2 separate regions of the Homo sapiens genome follow, and region 2 is linked to region 1. The links are contacts of gene promoters, found by promoter capture Hi-C in blood cells and fetal thymus (Javierre and others, 2016). All regions are on one chromosome and are shown on one strand. The core of a region is centred on a gene start or on the middle of the fragment in contact, and the rest is flanking DNA. Distances in the headings are between cores, read along the strand shown.

Region 1 (2,848 bases), core at 143-2,642:
GTATGTTGAAATATGAACTACTCTCTGGATGAGAAAAAATGATTACACTTGATTATATTTACCTTTGGAAAGGTAAGTGGTTTGGGTGATTGACTATAATTGTTATCTCTATCATTTTGGATAAACCCCAATCATAAAAATAAGTGTGTTTTGTTTCACACACTGACACATAGACAATACACATTCTTACTTCTTTTCAAAAAGTTAATATGTGAATATAAATGACATATTCCAAATTTACTAAACTGAATACACATTTCATGAAAAAGGAGAGAGGAAAGACATACTAAAAACAGGCCAGGGCCTGGTGTGGTGGCTCACGCCTGTAACACCACCACTTTGGGAGGCCGAGGCAGGTGGATCACCTGAGGTCAGGAGTTCAAGACCAGCCTGGCCAACATGGTAAAACCTTGTCTCTACAAAAATACAAAAATTAGCCGGGCATGATGGTGGGTGCCTGAAATCCCAGCTATTCGGGAGGCTGAGGCGAGAGAATCATTTGAACCCGGGAGGCGGAGGTTGTAGTGAGCCGAGATCGCACCGTTGCACTCCAGCCTGGGCGACAGAGTGAGACTCCATCTCAAAAACAAACAAACAAACAAAAAAACAACAACAAAAGACAAAGATGGACACACTTCGTTGTGTTAAAAGCCTCAAAGACATCTGCATCATTCTAGCTTTGCTCCTAATTTTTAAAATTAATGATTTTAATAGGTTCTTAATTAGGTAAAAACTGCATTAAAACATACTTTGCCATATTTTTCCCAGAAGGATACCTAATTGGGTGGTTTGAGGGGTGCCAGATGTAACAGGAAATAAGACATGTCTTTTAAATAAAGGAAAAGCTCAAAGGCATCCTGCTTGATACTAGAATCAAATATATAAATTGAGGAATAAAACATAACCGGGAAACACATTTATAACTGCATATGAAAAATACAGAGGAGAATTTTTTAATAAAATATATTTTTAAATATTAACTAGTACATTTGAGAGGACAGCATTCAACAGGCCAATGTGAACATACCTTTAATGCAGGAACTCAGGTTCCCCATAAGAAAGACCAGAATCTGTGAAAATGACAGCAAGCATGTTCAACCTGCTATGAACTTTGAAAAACTCAGCACAGACAGTGGCAGTTAGGACCGAGGGCAAGATATACCCAATCACATAACCATGGTGATAGGAGCATCATCAACGTCTCAGGGTAAAGTCACAATGTGTATTGTGAGGTCCGCTTTCTGCTGCACCAACAAGAGTGCTTTCACACGCACAGGAGGGTCATTAAAGATTAGGCCTTTTACGGCAGGGAGTGGTGGCTCACACCTGTAATCCCAGCACTTTGGGAGGCCGAGGTGGGTGGATCACGAGGTCAGGAGATAGAGACCATCCTGGCTAACATGGTGAAACCCCGTCTGTACTAAAAACACAAAAAATTAGCCGGGCGTGGTGGCGGGAGCCCCCAGCTACTCGGGAGGCTGACGCAGGAGAATGGCGTGAACCCGGGAGGCGGAGCTTGCAGTGAGCCGACATAGCGCCACTGCACTCCAGCCTGGGCGACAGAGCGAGACTCCGTAAAAAAATAAAATAAAATAAAATAAAATAAAAGATTAGGCGTTTTACTTAAAAAAAAAACAACAAAACCCAAGCTCATTAATTACTATTCTGTGCTTATTAAAATAAGTTTTAGGAGGAGAAATTGTGTACCCCAAAATACACTCAATGGCAAGAATTTCAAACTGAGCAGGGGCAAAACCGATATGTTAGTAACAACCAGAAGTTCCATTCTCGATTCGAAATTCCATTGCCAAATATTTCTACCATTCCTGAGTCATCTAATATTTCTAGAACCAATAAGCAAACTGTTCAGAATTAAAGACAGCATAAATGGATATTGTTATAAAAGTCATGTTTCTTAAAAAGTGACATTTTTTAAAGTCACATTTTAAAAGTCATATTTCCCTAAAAAGTCATATTTCTACCATTCCTGAGTGATCTAATGTTTCTAGAAGCAATAAACTGTTCAGAATTAGAAAAAAGTGTTACTTGATATTATAAAAATCATATTTCTCTCACAATATAATTATGAAACTTATTTTTCCACTTATCTCTATATATTACTATGCACTTATTTATCTCCCAAACTTTGTGAATTCACAGAGGAATTTGTCTACCATTGTGTATGTAAACGGCTGGCCATTCACTGAGTATTTAAAGGAAAAAAAAATCACTATATTTTCACCAGTGCATCTTCTCGGTGGGGTGAACACTTTGGGTGAATACATATAATTTTTTATTTGAGACAGGGTCTCACTCTGTCACTCAGGCTGGAGTGCAGTGGCTTGATCATGGCTCACTGCAGCCTTGACCTCCCAGGCTCAGGTGATCCTCCCAACTCAGCCTCCCATGTAGCTGGGACTACAGGTTCTTGCCGCCATGCTCAGCTAATATTTTGTAGAGATGGGGTTTTTCCATGGTGCCCAGGCTGGTCTTCAACTCTTGGATTCAAGCAATCCACCCACCTCGACCTCCCAAAGTATTGGGATTAGAGGCGTGAACCACCATGCCCAGCCTAATACATATAATTAAAGTGTTTCTGAATGCAGAATTTTAGATAACTTTCAAAATGTATAACTACGTGTGTATTCTGGCTGATACATAACACCCAATTGCAAATACTTTTATGATATGCCCAAGAAAACAAGCTGTTGAAAGTGACCTGCCCTAAAATAAATAGAACAAATGAAAATTTTAGGGTTAAGATGAGAGAGTTGCTATGTTTCAAAGAGAATAGGTACCCTTCATGATATAAATATTACAGTACAAATGTCTATCATTGCTAAGTACA
Region 2 (2,848 bases), core at 201-2,700, 230 kb before region 1:
ACCAGATACCTAAGTATGTTGTCTCATTCAGTTATAAAGGCCCCGTGAAGTGAGTTTCGGTTGCACCTTTCTTTAGGACGGTCAGCTGGGTCTCTCTGCTAAACATCAAGCGCTGTGACACAGGCTCATACAAAAACTACTCCCTAGGACCCCCTATGCCCCCCTCCCCAGCCCCCACCTGCAGCTGTGGTGCAGGAAAGCTGAACCCCTGACTCCGGTGGGCATTTGCTCAGCAGGGTGTCCACAACTCTGCCTGCGCTTCTGAAGCTGAGATGAGACAGTCAGCCCCATGCATACAATGACAGGATGTCTGGAAATGCAGAGGCCCAAGGAAATTCATGTCTGGATCAGGTTTTCCCTTTGATTGTGGCCCAGGAATGGGAATGAGCTCCTGGGAGGGCGTTTGCTTCCCTAAGGAGTGAAGTGGCATGGAAGGGGACAGGGATTCTCTACGTTATAGGGTTGTGGTAACCCTGATCTCTTGGTGACCACAAAGTAAGAGCAGGGAGGCATCCTCAGGTATCCCCAATGCCCCAGAGTCTCAGCAGCCACGGGAAGGTCCAATCTGACCACAACCACAACTCCAGGGGTCTCACTTCCATCCTCTCTGGTGTTGCTTTAGCCTGTAGGCTGAAGATTAACCCCCACCCTAATCGCTTGTGCTATCTATAGATCACAGACAATGGTGTGGAGAAATACTTGCCTTGCTTACCCCCACCTAGTCATGTACCCCATGCTTGCTCAGTCTATCACGACCCTGTCACGTGGACCCCTTAGAGTTGTAAGCCCTTAAAAGGGCCAGGAACTCTTTCTTTGGGGAGCTCGGTTCTGTTCTTATGACGCAAGTCTGCTGACCTCCCGGCCTAATAAAGCCTCTTCCTTCTTTAACCCGGTGTCTGAGGAGTTTTGTCTGTGGCTCATCCTGCTACATTTCTTGGTTCCCTGACCGGGAAGTGAAGCAGCCCCTTAGGTGGCTTAGGCTTGCCCTGTGGAGCATCCCTGCAGGGGACTCTGGCCAGCTTGAGCTACGTGGATCCTGAGCATGCTCCTGGGTAGGCATTTGCCCCGGTGGAATGCCTTGTCAGAGCAGTGCATGGCAGGCCCCAGCAGAGGATCAATGCAGTGGCTGAGCACCGGGAGGGAACTGGCGCTTGGAGTCCGTATATCTGGAACATGGTAGGACTGGTCTTGGGAACTTGCCCACTCCATTTGAGTGGAAGCATGGCCTGATCACCCACAGAGTGCCTTTATCGGCACTTTGGTTTTGGTTTTGATTTTGACTTGGTTTGAATTCCTTGGCAAACGGGCGTGCCTTTGTCGGCACTTTGGTTTTGGTTTTGATTTTGACTTGGTTTGAATTACTTGACAAATGGGCGTGCCTTTATCGGCACTTTGGTTTTGGTTTCGATTTTGACTTGAATTGCTTGACAGGACCTGTCTTGGGAACTTGTCCACTCCATTTGAGTGGAAGCATGGCCTGATCACCCACAGCGTGCCTTTATCAGCACTTTGGTTTTGGTTTTGGTTTTGGTTTTGACTTGGTTTAAATTGCTTGACGAACGGGCGTGTCCTTTATCTGCACTTTGGTTTTGGTTTTGATTCTGATTTGGTGTGAATTCCTTGAACCCATTAACCCACGGGTGGCCCGAATGCATTCAGTCTGTAGCGGCAACTGCTTTGCTGACAGAAGAAAGTAGAAAAATAACTTTTAGAGGAAACCTCATTGTGAGCACACCTCACCAGTTCAGAAGTATCCTAAGTTAAAAAAAAAAAAGCAAAAAGGTAGCTTAATAACTCAAAAATCTTAAAGTATGGGGCTACTCCGTTAGAAAAAGATGATTTAACATAAACCCCTGAAAATTCCCTTAACCCAGAAGATTTCCTAACAGGGAATTTAAATCTTAATTACCATACAAAGATCCGACCAGACCTAGGAGGAACTACCTTCAGGACAGGATGATAGATAGTTCCTCCCAGGTGATTAAGGAGAAAAACCACAATGGGTATTTTGTAATTGAGGAAAACTCTTGTAGAAGTAGAGTTAGGAAAATTGCCTAATAATTGGTCTGCTCAACTTTGCCACCCAGCCAAGCCTTGAAGTACTTACAGAACCAGGAAAAAAAAAAGCCATCTATACCAATTCTAAGTTAATCTGGACTAAACAAAGTCTTATTAATAGCAAAGGATAATTGAAATCCCACACTTACAAGGTTTTCAACAAAAGTAAAGTTGTTTTGCTAAAAGTTAACAGTGTAACGTGTATGATAGTAACTTCTAATCTGTGGCCTTAGACAGTCTAGTCCACAGACCTGAAGGAAGTTTGCTTTGGAAAAGAATGGTTATCATCTTCGAAAAAAAGAAAAAAGAAAAAAAGTGGGGGTGCAGAATTTATATAAAAAGGAATGTTATATGGAAAATTCTTGTCCTGAAATAAATTAACTAGTTGTTTAAGGAAAGGGATGTTTCCAATAAGTCAGAAAGTTGAGACATGTCGAAGAATTGTCTGTGAAAATCATGAAAAAAAGTGTTAGAAAAAGAAATTTATGCAAGAAATGTTGTATAATTTAAATTAATTATCCTCCTGAATGTAAAACTGTTGAAGAAACAGTTTATGTGCAAGGTATATAAGGAAAGTAAAATATGCCTTTGGTAAAAGGATTATAAGGAAGCATAAGAATGTGGATTTTTACCTACATTAAAAGGTTACAAAAATTGTTTTGAAGGTTTAAGCAAGTTTTGAAACATTAATTGTAAAGAAAATTCTGTGTGTAAACATATTGGCTAAAGTTAAAGGGGTATCATCCAGTTTTTCTGTGAACTGGACATTAAAATAAAAACACAACAGATT

Evidence for each region. Contacts are between HindIII fragments. The CHiCAGO score rates a contact against its expected background, and 5 or more counts as called.
Region 2: a contact is called between a fragment that was not itself captured here and the fragment with the promoter of RFPL3S in region 1, in 1 of 17 cell types (endothelial precursors). The highest score is 5.2, in endothelial precursors.

The regions. Positions count from the first base shown.
Region 1 is chr22:32,369,872-32,372,719 of GRCh38, forward strand. RFPL3S (RFPL3 antisense) reads right to left here and starts at 1,393. Exons shown (of 5, transcript NR_104232.1): 1 at 1,327-1,393; 2 at 1,028-1,070. The HindIII fragment of the contact is 20,480 bases long and covers 1-2,848 here.
Region 2 is chr22:32,136,737-32,139,584 of GRCh38, forward strand. No RefSeq gene overlaps it. Among named protein-coding and RNA genes, the nearest start is that of C22orf42, 21 kb to the right of the region's middle. The HindIII fragment of the contact is 8,725 bases long and covers 1-2,848 here.